2 separate regions of the Homo sapiens genome follow, and region 2 is linked to region 1. The links are contacts of gene promoters, found by promoter capture Hi-C in human tissues and cell types (Jung and others, 2019). All regions are on one chromosome and are shown on one strand. Each heading gives the region's core, a stretch centred on a gene start or on the middle of the fragment in contact. The rest is flanking DNA. Distances are from core to core; before and after follow the strand shown. Region 1 holds the start of DPYD (dihydropyrimidine dehydrogenase). Region 2 overlaps DPYD (dihydropyrimidine dehydrogenase).

Region 1 (6,497 bases), core at 1,068-3,567:
TGTATGTATTTGGGTGTTTATATGTGTATTTATATATATAGACTGATAGAAAAATAGATATAGATAGATTTATCTATCTCTCTATATCTCCAAGAGGATCTAGAGTAAGTGGGTAAGGTGTGGTTGTAGGGAGATGCAGGAACATCTGACTTTGGAACATTACTCCATGAAAAGATAAGTAGTTATTTTGACCCATTTTAACTACAAATTCATTGATAGATATTGTGACCTATTTCTCAGCAGTAAGTAGGACAATGAGAATATGTGATGCAGAGAAACTAAAGTTTCTAAAATGAACTGCCCAGTGTATAAACGAATGTACTCTGTTCATTCAATCACCAAGTGTTCTTGGTCTCTTATGCTTCAGTCCTGAGCTAGGAACTGAGTATCCAGTAAACAATAAAAGTACACATGGGCCCCCTCTTCCTGGAGCTTCCTCTCTAAATAGAAGACATATATTAAATGAATCACATTCAAATAAATATTTAAACAACATTTGAAAAGTCTATGAAGACGAAATATAATGAAAAAGACAGAGTGGGTGTAATTTTGTTGGTGATGGGGTTAGATCATAAAGGCTTCAGTGAGACCTAAATGATGAGTAGAAGGGGAAGAAGAGCTCCAAGTGGAGGGCAATGTGCAAAGGTAGAGAAGTGGATGGAGGATGAGAAGATTACCTTGTGGTTGGAACATAATGAGTCAGGGCAAGAGTGGCGGAGAAGCGGAGTAGAGCAGGTTATTCAGCGGTTACTAGGGAGTTTGTATTATATTCTGACTGCAATGGACCATTGAAGGATTTATACCATGGGTACCTGGGTGTGTGGATGTATCGTTGTATGGCATGAGCCAGTTAATACTTTCTAAAGCTCAATCTGGTATGGATATGAGGTAAGAATAGAAGCTAGAATACCAGTAGCTTGGACCATGGTGGATGCAGCAAAATGGAGAAATGAATGATTCAAAATCTATTTAGGAGGTTGACTTCTGAGAGTTTGGGCATAGATTAAATGAGGCAATAAGGATAAAGGAGTCAAAGATGATTCTAAGGTTTCCATTTAACTTTCTAGTGTCTGTTAATATTTGATTCAAGAAAAATGTATCTGTCTTTTAGTAATTTCCAGGTTCTGGAAGGTAATCTGATGGTTTGTTCAGAGAAGCCTTCTCAACCACGCAAGGTACCCATACCCTAGTTATTCTGTCCTATTTTTCTTTTATCTTACAAGCAGGCATCACATTTTCTTACTTGCTTATTTTGAGTATAATCTCCATGACAGTGATGTGTATTCTTGAAGACTATATCCGGAGAACCTAGCACAGTGTCTGTGTCTGGCATATTGAAAATGCTCAATAAACATATTCGTTGAATAAAACGATGAATGGACTAATGAAAAAATAATAAGGGAGAAATACTTGACTCCAAGGTGTCACTACCTAGCCAAGTGCATGAAGGAGTGCCGCAAATGTCCTAACGGAAGTAGAAAGTGTTATGGTAGAAGAGAGGTGGGATGCATCTAACAGGGGTGGGGGGGGGGCGGGGAGAAAAGGAGAGAGGTCTGGAGTACACATATCCTCAAAAAACGAGGTGAATGTTTTCTGGATTGGGACCAACTCTACAGGAAATCTCTCCCTTCTCCTCAGCAAGCTCTAGAGCAAAAACGAAGAGCAACTTTTCAAAAGAGTTTCACGTTTTAGAATAAAAAATATTTAAAAAAATAACCATTAAAATGAGACTTTCCTGCAAAAAGACAACCTTGATTATGTACCACCTGCAGCACTTCCTGTATGCTGCTGCGGGCTGTGGATGTTTTTGCTCGCCTCCCTCCCCTCCCCGCTGGGGCTGTGAACTCTCAGAAGACCGGTGCTTTGGTATCCTCCACTGCAGCTCAAACCCCGCCCACCTACTTGGTGGATGGATGGAGGAACATCTACTATTTCATCCTTGAGGAGTTCCTGAAAATGCAGTTGCCCCTCAAACAATGTATCTACATCTCGCGGGGTTTCTGTGGAAGAAAAGAAAAAGTGCAAGTTGTTGCTTGGAGCGCGGACTGCTTTTACCTTTGCCTGGGGATCCCTCCTATCTGGCCCCGCCTGCCTAGCTCTGTTTTTAGCAGTTTAGAGATTAAAGGCCAGTCCCCAGAGCGGGTGCTCTACTCCCTCCCTCCCTTCTGCTTGCAGGCTGGGGCGCGGAGCGGGCTGAACTGGGAAGGCCGGGCTGCGGCTGCCGTGCCTGGCGCGGGAGCCGCAGGACCGAGAGCGCAGCCCCGCCCCGGGGGCGTTGCCGCCCCGCGCCCGCTCCGCCCCCGCGCCGCCGGCCCTAGTCTGCCTGTTTTCGACTCGCGCTCCGGCTGCTGTCACTTGGCTCTCTGGCTGGAGCTTGAGGACGCAAGGAGGGTTTGTCACTGGCAGACTCGAGACTGTAGGCACTGCCATGGCCCCTGTGCTCAGTAAGGACTCGGCGGACATCGAGGTACGGACTTCGCGCCGGCTCGTCGGTGGTGGCGGGGTGGTGGGGAGTGCTCTGCGGGTAGGTGCCGGGGAGGCCCCCGCGGCCCCCGCACCCCGGAGAGTGAGAGACGCGGGAAAGTTTCCCCCGTGGGAGCTCTGCGGGGGAGCGGAGGAGCGCGGAGCCACAGGCCCGCGTGGGCAGGCGGGGAGCTCAGGGGAGGACTTTCCGCTACTGGAGGGGTTGCCCTTTGCGTCGGGACCTGTTTACTTCGGAAGAGATTTCAGGAAGCCTGTCTTGTCCTCCTCTGAATGTCAGTGACTGAAGAAGCACTGGAGTTCCAGAGAGGTGGACTCTAGGGGGTAGGAGTGCCCATTTCCCACACGTTCTACCCCTTCACCTCCTGTATGTCGTTTCTGGACACCTCCACTGCCCCCATTTCCAATAGCTGAATCCTGCTATTTGCAAAGGTGAAGCATAGAAATAAAACATCTGTGTGTCAGCTGTAGCAGTCGCCTCTAGTCATAGTATTGTTTATGAAATAATTTAACATGGAGAGAATGGAACGAAGTATTCAGAACATGAAAAATGCAGTGCCCTCAGAAAAACTAACTGTATTTTTCTCTCCTCTCAACGGTTTTTGATTCCCTCTTGCACTCCGTTTCTGTTAAAAAAAATCTTTTTTTATGTAAATAAGGTCCTACCTGAAACGACATGGCATTTCCTTTCTCTCTAGTATCTTAATATATGCGATGAAAAGGATTTAATTATCAACAGTGATTTTACACATACTAAACCTAGGTCAGCACTTTTGAGCTAAGACAAACTGATTTTTAGTTTTCTGTTTTGTTTGGGGCTTTTCTTTATTTGAGTCTTCTACTCTGGTAGAAAATTATGTGTGTGTGTGTTTTCTTTAGAAATAACAAAATTTTCCTTTCGTCAGTCCTTTTGGCGGCTTAAGTAAAAGTTTTGCAAACCACCTGTTTGCAAAATAGCTGCTTTTGCCACATTTTGCCTCCGTAATTGAAGAAACTTTATATTCTGGGAGGAAGTAGTCCTGTTTTCTCCAGGCTCCATAACTTGGTTTGAAAAATCATTTTAGTAACAAGAGCCAAAGTGTATTATGTGGACATCTCTGGTTAGTTTACTTTTGGTTTCTGTTTTGGAGAGTTGACTTTTTGATATTGAGCAATATGATATATTTAACAAATAGTTGTTCATCTGTGTGCAGGATAATAGATACTTGTCTTTTTCTATATTTCATTTAGGGTAGTCTATTCCTTTTTGGTCCTTGTGACTTTGACTTAACTTTTTAAAAAATTTTATTTACTAAGTCGAAAAACAAGCTTCTGACAGTATTAAGGCAGTATTGATTTAAGATATCGGAGTTGACTTAGGATGGGTGGCTTTTGGCTCTTTAATTTCAGAATGGTGTGTTATCTGCTTAACTGATTTCTTTCTCTGCAGTTGTCTTCGAAATCAGTTCTTACATTCTACTGAGGAGAAAGATGCCAGTGAAACATTGAATGCCAAGCTTGATTTCATATATTGTTTCAACTAAGAACATTTAAGAAGCCCATCCTTCCCACTCCCTCCACTCAATTCAACCTTAGTCTATATGGCCAGTTTGCCTAATATTACTTTTAATCTAGATTGCTGGTGTTCAAACACCTTCAGCTCTTATGTAGTTCATATGTGCAACACTTTAATCAGTAACATCTTTCATCACTCACAGCACCTTACTTTTCCCTCAAAGTAATACCCGTGATTCATGAGCTAGAATACCATGAAAGAGCATGAAATTAATCATTAAAATATAATGCAGTGAGGAAAAATACATTAAGCTTAGGGGAGCACATTCAAGCATAAATGCCTCAGTTGATCCTATTGATTTACCAAAGTTCATTTTTGTGTTGAAGAATTAGAATGAATTATAAAGGCTCAGTTTTCCATCAAATTTGAATGCTTTTCTTGAACAAATTCATTACAACCATTGTCTAGAGATCTGATTGTGATCATTGTTTTAGCTTCAAATACATGGATAAGCAAGTAATATTTTAAAAATATTGGTATGAAGCAGTTAATGAATGTGATAAGAACACATTGATAAATGTGAAAAGTACTTGACAATTGTTAAAAGAACAGAAGGTGATGATAACAACCTACTCTAATAGTGACTGACTTTTCCCTATGAGCTAACTACAGAACCTCAGGTTTCAGTGAAACAGCCAAGAAATATCTTTGTTTCTGGGGGAAAAGTTATTGAGGTATATATAAAGGTGCTTTGTGTGCCTGCTTCATAATTTCTAGTCTGAATCCAATATCACATCAGGATTTGACGGTTAGGAACATGGAAAACAATCAGATCACCAAACTCCATAGCTGGAATATCCCTGGGCTGGGAGATAGGCAAGGAAAGGATGTGTTACTTGGTAATAGGACCTAGCTCATTACTCAGAATTGTTGTTGTTGTTGTTGTAATCATAGAAGTTGCATGAGAAATCATGTTTTTTTTCAGATATATTAATGTGGTTCAGAGCCTGGCTTCTGAAACCAACTGCCTCTGATTGAGGTCTAACTTTAAGCTGTGTGTTTGGGCAAGTTAGCCTCTCTGAATTGCACATGGAAAATCTGCTAAGGATAATAAACAAATGTCACAAGTTGACAGCATCTTGTTGGGAAAAAGGACAAAAATGTTAAAAAATAAAGATAACAGAAAAATATATCTTATTCTCAGGAAAATCACTTCCAATGAAATGATTAGCATTTTAAAGTCCGTTAATAGTAGTTATATGCTTTTAGAAGTTATTTTGCTTTGTGAGTGTACTGTTTGGATACAGTCTGAATTTTGTCAACGATGACTTTAATACAAACTCTCCTGGGATGGTTTCAAAGAAGGTTAGTATTGGACATTGGTCACTTTCCCAGGCCTCAGCAGTAACTTAACAGCACTTCTTCATTTAGATTGAATTTACAGCCAGTATATTGTGAATATCTGCACACTTGAAAGGAAATGAGAATTATTTTGAAACAGTACTCTTTTGTTCAAGACCTTGTTCCCCTCCACCGGCAAGGATAATGAGAATAGACTTTGAAAGTATATATATCTAAACGAAATGTATGCAGCTGCAGCAAGCTTTTAACTATTTGAATACTAGTACTTTTGATATATATTTGTAGCCAAACCAAGTTGCTATCTGTTACTGTACTGCTACCACAGTCACAATCACAAGGCCCATTCCTTGAATGATCAGTTAGTGAATGTTAAAGGGTTATAAACTTAATTCACATTTACCCTAAATGAAAAAGGGATTTTAGTCCATTGTCCACAAAATCAAATGCATTTTAAGTCAAACAGAAATGGTTTCGGAATTACTGATACTGTGACTTCTATTCATTTGAAAAGGTAATTGGGAATTTTCTGTATGATTAACTAGGAAAATGAGATTAAAAATAGCGAATTTGGAAAATAGAAGCATAATGGGAAAGACTTGGAGAAAGTGGACTTTACAAATTTTGAAACAAGGAAAGTCATGGGTTATAAATTGGCAGAGATGGCAAAAAAATTTTCAGAACATCTTTTATCATAATTGCCTTTGCTGCTGGGGAGGAAGGAGAATCATGGATCCAAAAAAGATAATAAAGATTCCACTTTATACAAAGCCATGAGTTGTTTATTGATTTAAATGGATATATTTTTACTGAATGTGTAAGCATCAGTCATTTCTTTTCTCCTTCCTTTTATTGACTGGGCACTGCAGATCTTTTGGAAATATATTCTTAAATAAATTAAGACTTTTAAAGCTTTAACTTTTTAAAACTATTTTGTGAGTTAGAGTTGTTGAAAACATGCTTGTACTTCCTACTTTAAGCTGTTTTGTGGGCCATAGTTTTACTTTAAAGTGTTTCTCCTTTCTAAGGAGTTTAGCTGGATAGTAGAAATGTGTCTGATTATCTGATTTGAGGAGTCACTGATTCTAATGGTAGCTTCCTGTAGTTTTAAGGTACTGCATATTTCTGTAGTTGAGTGTGTTGATATGTGTTTCAGTGCAGT
Region 2 (6,039 bases), core at 1,529-4,028, 770 kb after region 1:
ATGTTCTCCTGGGGCTATAGAGCCAGACCTAAAGTTGCACGTCATGCCAGGTCATCATATTGCTCATGAACAAGATCATGTGGAAGGGAGTGTGGATGCAGCTGTTATTCTCTTTTTCCCCATCTGAACCTAAATCCTGTTCCTTTGGATAGCAATTCAGCTCATTAGGTTCTAGACTAGTTTCAGTATAGTAGTAATGGAAAAAAGTATGATGTTATCAGCTATACTCATATTAAGCTACAGAGAATACTGCAGTTTTGCCTTGACCAAAGAATGCCTCTACTAGATGAAAATCAGAACTTAAAGTACAAGTAAATAAATAGGTGATTACAAAAGACTCTTACATTTTAGAAGGCTTCTCCATAGAGCCCCTTTTAAAAAAATGAACTCCTCTAGTGTTTTTAAGTGTTTTACAGACCATTAACTACATGGCAGAGGGGCAATGAGAAGGGATTTCTAAATTTAATGAACTAGGACACACTCAAATTGAGGACAGATAAAAATAAGACAAGTTATATTTAAAATTCTACTTTATCAGTGGGAAAACGCAACCATGAAAACCATCTAAACATAAACTTGAAAAGTATTCAGTTCTCAGGTATGCTATACCTGAGAGAGTGACAACTTGATGAAAACATTGATGATGATAATATTGTATAAATATGATAATTATATATATCAATATATTAGTCTACAGAATATATACAGCAATATCTACATGTGTGCCTTGCATATATATGTTATATACAATAGATATAAGTACTATATATGGTATATTTTAAAAATTATTAAATATGGGTATCTGTGTATTTTTACGTGACATTAATATTATAATTTAATAGATATATTTATAGATATTAACTATATCTGCATGTATTTGTGTATATATTCAATGTGTTTATGTAAGTGTGTGTGTGTGTGTGTGTGTGTGTGTGTGTATGTGATTCAGCCATCACCTAACAAAGTGGAGGCATCATTCAAACTTCGCACCTTTGCATTTTACACCTAGATTTAATACTGACATTGACTGCAAATCTCACTCCACAGAATACAAAATAACCCAATTGTCCATTCATTCCCAGCTCTTGAACTCTTAAATCTCGTTTAGATATGGTTTAAACCAGGAAATAAATTAGCCACATCCGTAGAAACTTTGGCTATAATTGCCTAGTGTATTTTTCCACTAGTAGTGTTTGAAATGCTTCCTATGAAGTAAATGCTTTACAAAGGTAGCAGAAGGAGATTCCTGAAAATAGTAGTGTAAATGGCCTTGACTGCATTTTGATAGGAAACTTCAAGCCATGTTGATTAATACATTATCCATAAAATTAAACCAGCCTAGAAAAGGTTAATTTTTAAATAACTGTAATGTTAATGTAATACTTATTTTTGATGAGGACAGGCTGAAGAGAGCTTAATAAAATATACTAGACAAATTCAGATAATATACTACTTCAAAACTGTTCCATGAATAACTTTCCATTTTTAAATTCTTCTATGGAATAGTAGAGTATGACCATTAGTATGTTTTTAATTTAAAATGCATTTTGGAACATATTAACAGTAAAATTGAAAGAACAGGGATTTGAAGATTTGGATTCTGTCTGTATTAATAGCTGATTGCATAGTACCAGATAATCTTTCTTTTTCTCTTCTTTTCTTTCATTTTTTAATTTTTTTATTTTTTTATTTTTTTATTTTTGAGACAGACTTTCACTCTTGTAGCCCAGGCTGGAGTGCAATGGCACAATCTCGGCTCACTGCAAATTCCGCCTCCCAGGTTCAATCGATTGTCCTGCCTCAGCCTGCCGAGTAGCTGGGATTACAGGCGCCCACCACCATGCCTGGCTAATTTTTGTATTTTTAGTAGAGACGGGGATTTCACCATGTTGACCAGGTTGGTCTCGAACTCCTGACCTCAGGTGATCTGCCTGCCTCGGCCTCCCAAAGTGCTGGGATTACAGGCATGAGCCACTGCACCCAGCCCCACTGCACCCAGCCCCAGATAATCTTTCTGATTCTTGATTTTCTCATCTAGAGACTGGAGATAATTCAGTCTTCCCAGTTGACTTCACAGCACTGTTGTAAAGAATCAAAAGAGCTCATATATATGTACGATTATATCTGTATAATCTCTATATATGTTCTCAAATACAGTAAGGTATATGTAAATATATGTAAAGTATTTTAATGTTTCTACAGTTTTAATGTTTTAAAAGGAACACATTTCATAGAAGAATGTTACGAGAAGGTAATGATTTCTCATTTTGAACATAAGATAGCTGGATTTGATATCAGTATTAATTTTTATTGGGTATTGACTTAGCTTTGCTTATCTTATAACAAGAGGCCATAATCCAAGCATAGTTTATTCCATTGACTTTATTACTTTATCAAAGCTAGTAATTACACTTCTGGTGTTTCCAGACCAACAACAAAAACAATTGAACATAATGCAATGAATATTGCAATGAAAAACATTTGTCATTATAATGTACTAGAATTCCAGGAAGATGCAATATATTCTATTTGTGTGTAGTTTCTTATAAACAGCCTTAGTTCTATTTGAAGCTAAAGAAGAACAGGATGGTTAGTTTCAATATGTTAACAGCTCCTTCTCTTTAAGTAAAATAGAAAATGGAAAAGAGAAGGACCTAGAAAGAAGCATGTCTCACTCCATCCAGAAGTCATGAAAGCAGATGATGCAGTGATGTACCTAGCTCTGAGGTCCTCTTTTGTATAAGAGAAATAAATATTCATATATACAGTATATCTGAGAAGAGGGCTTCTTCAGAGGAGAACCCAGAGAGAGCCCAGTGCCCACAAGAAAATGCCTGGGTGAGCTTATTATAGTTCTGGTTGCCCAAGCAAATTATATTTTACCTACGTGAAAATAATAGTAATAGTGAGAAAAATGTTCTTGAACATTTGAATGGTGCTTTCATTCATTCATTTATTCATCCATCCAGCAAATGTTTATTAAGCACCTACTGTGAAGTAGGCAATGTGCTAAACATTGTCATACTGTAGCGAAGAAGAGAGACTGGTCCTTGTTCTCTTGGAGATTACAAGCTAATCATGGACAGAAACTATTTTAGTTTTTTTTTTTTAAGATACAGTGTGTACTAAACATTTGCAGGAGGAAAAGGCATGCTTAGAAGAAAAATAGAGAATGTGGAGCTACTTTAATTTGGGTATCAGGGAAGCGTTCTGTGAGAAAGAGATATTTGGAATGATATGTGAAGGATGAGGAGCCAGGGAACAGCGTTCCACTGGTGAGAGTAGCATTTGTGAAGGTGTGCAAAAACCTGAAGGACGGCCTTTGTGGCACAAGTTAGAGAAAAAAAGAGGAAGTAACGCCACATGGTATTAGAAAGGTTGACAATGGCCACATTATGTGGAGGCTCGTTGACCATGACAAAGAATTTGGATTTTATTAAATGTGCAAAGGGAAACTGCCAAATGGTTTTACACAGAAATGGTGAAAATATACAAATACATCGTAATGTTACTATGTGAAAATATATAGGAAATGTGATGCAATGAAGTTACAGACATCATTATGAGGTGGTTAGCAGAATTGGCTTTGTGGGTATGCAATCTGTGCCATAGCACAAAGCTTCCCTCTCAGAAGGTCCTGCTCTTGGATTAATGCTCTGACAACTCCATCTTGAAATTCATAATAATTTTTAAACTGGGAGGCTTGGATTTTTACTTTTCATTGGGTCCCCAAATTATGTAGCTAATACTGTCTACTATAGAAATCGAGTTGCAAGATGATGTTATAAACTAGGATAATGACACTGGAGAAAGACAAAAGTTATCAGCTGGACGCGGTGAGTCAGGCTTGTAATCCTAGCACTTTGGGAGGCTGAGATGGGCAGATCACCTGAGGTCAGGAGTTTGAGGCCAGCCTGGCCAACATGGTGAAACCCTGTCTCTACTAAAAATACAAAAATTAGCTGGGCGTGGCAGTGCATGCCTGTAATCCCAGCTACTTGGGATGTTGAGGCAGGAGAATCCACTTGAACCCAGGAGGCAGAGTTTGCAGTGAGCCAAGATCATGCCACTGCACTCCAGCGTGGGTGACAGAGCGAGACTCTGTTACAAAAAAATAAAAAAAGTTATCTCTATTTCACAAGTGAAACACAGCTATAATTCTGTATCAGATTGCCAGTAATATGGGCTTTCAATTTGGTCCAAGTAGAGCATTTTAATTGTTTACTCAATCCTAACTTATGATAATCAACACATATTACATCCATTTAGTAAATACTAGTTTTCAAAAGATTGCTAATTTTTGTCATCTTCTGTTAGTGCATCTGCATGTTATGTATGTACAATAGAGATTAATTCCAAAGGGCGTGAAACATTTACCTTTACCTTTCCATTTCATTAATATCTATCAAGCCCAAAGCGTACAAAAGACTCTGTTGTAAACTTAGAGTGATGCAGGTATTTTCTATTAAGAGCTTATAACTGAGTTGAAAGTTAAGATCTAAATAGCTATAATACAAGAAAGGATATACTTGTAAAGGAGATACAAACAATGAACTGTAAGATTTTTCGTTTCTTTAGAAGAATCATTAGAAGTTTTATCAAGTGTTTCTGCTTATTTAATCACAGGAGTTCAAAGATGTTTGTCGTGACACCAGAATGTGGGATGACATTATTATGACATTTCATTTTAATTAAAACTAGATATTGCCAGGGATTCCATAGTAGGTATCTCCCAATATGTAGTAATCCATAAGATTGTCATGGTATGTATGAAAATCCCATTTAGAAGATAAATATTATTGAGGTCTTTAAAGAAAAAAACTTCAAAATGCCTCTCCTTATTTCCTGCAGAATGAAATAGATCTATAATTAAAATAATTCTTAGTATTCATCATCAGAGTTGAAAAATAAAATCAGACTTTTGATTCCTAGATGGAAATCTATTAAGAGATAAATGAAAATATTGTGGTTGCTGCACAAGACATCTGTCTTCAGTTTAAGCTGCACAAACTGCAAGCAAATGTGGATGTTTTCTCTATAGTATGGAACTTTCATCAGGGAAAAGCCTAGTTTGATGATGAAATTTCAAAGCAGATATCCCAAAAGAACACACACACCCCCCCCACACACACACACACACCCTACACATACACCAAACAGAAGAACACATGGGCAATGGAGGGATATACCAGTGCCCCAGAGACAGAGACCTCTGGCACTAAAGAGCTGTTCTTGTCATGCATGACAGCTTAAGGCTCCAGACATTTCATCCCAGGACATTTGTTACAGTTGCAGGCTTCCATAATTCAGGCTGTGGGCAGAGTTTCTAGCTTATATCTCCCGAGACCTACTCAGGGATCTGGTTTGCCTTGCACTTATCTCCCTTCTCAAACCTGTGCCTCTACAATAAAGTAGTCATGTATCTATCCAAAGTGCACACACTTTGTAACTTAGGGTAAAAGAAAATGCTTACCAACTTAGGCTATACCAAGTTGTATAAACCAATATTGCACTCACCCTCTTGATTCTACCCATTCTCAAAGTACAGTAAAAGAGAGCTATTACTCGCTCCACAATCACTGAGCCTGACATGATGCACAGAAGAGTTTAACATGAAAATAAGATGGACTGATGGGCTAAGGACGTAGAGGACATTGAGAAGATTTTATACAACTTGAGAAATATGTGTAAGTCTTACAGTTGGGATATTTAGGAAAAGGAAGGAGCATTTTGGATAGTCTTATCTTTATCTCAAATATCAATATCCTGGTTTAGGCTTTTAGGACCACTCTTCTGCGCTATAACTGTAGACTTTCTTCTCCCAGCTTCTCCTTCTCCAGACCCTTTACATATCACTGCCAGTTTATTTTTTCCAAAGCTTATTTTCTGATTCAGAGCATTCAGTGATACTTCTTGACCAACAAATGTAAGGGATTCTTTCATCTGGCATTCAAGGCTGTTTGTGATCTCCCTGCAACCTATTTTGCCAGTTTTTTGTTTGTTTGTTCGTTTGTTTGTTTGTTTGTTTTTTGAGACAGA

Evidence for each region. Contacts are between HindIII fragments. The study calls those that stand out against the background at their distance.
Region 2: a contact is called between a fragment that was not itself captured here and the fragment with the promoter of DPYD in region 1, in 1 of the 25 tissues and cell types used here (dorsolateral prefrontal cortex).

The regions. Positions count from the first base shown.
Region 1 is chr1:97,916,854-97,923,350 of GRCh38, reverse strand. It overlaps DPYD (dihydropyrimidine dehydrogenase), which reads left to right and starts at 2,317. Exons shown (of 23, transcript NM_000110.4): 1 at 2,317-2,467. The coding sequence starts at 2,429. RefSeq lists a silencer at 2,112-2,511. The HindIII fragment of the contact is 7,083 bases long and covers 1-4,132 here.
Region 2 is chr1:97,147,339-97,153,377 of GRCh38, reverse strand. All of the region lies in intron 20 of DPYD (dihydropyrimidine dehydrogenase), which reads left to right. All of the region lies in intron 1 of DPYD-AS1 (DPYD antisense RNA 1), which reads right to left. Among named protein-coding and RNA genes, the nearest start is that of DPYD-AS1, 54 kb to the right of the region's middle. The HindIII fragment of the contact is 8,159 bases long and covers 1-6,039 here.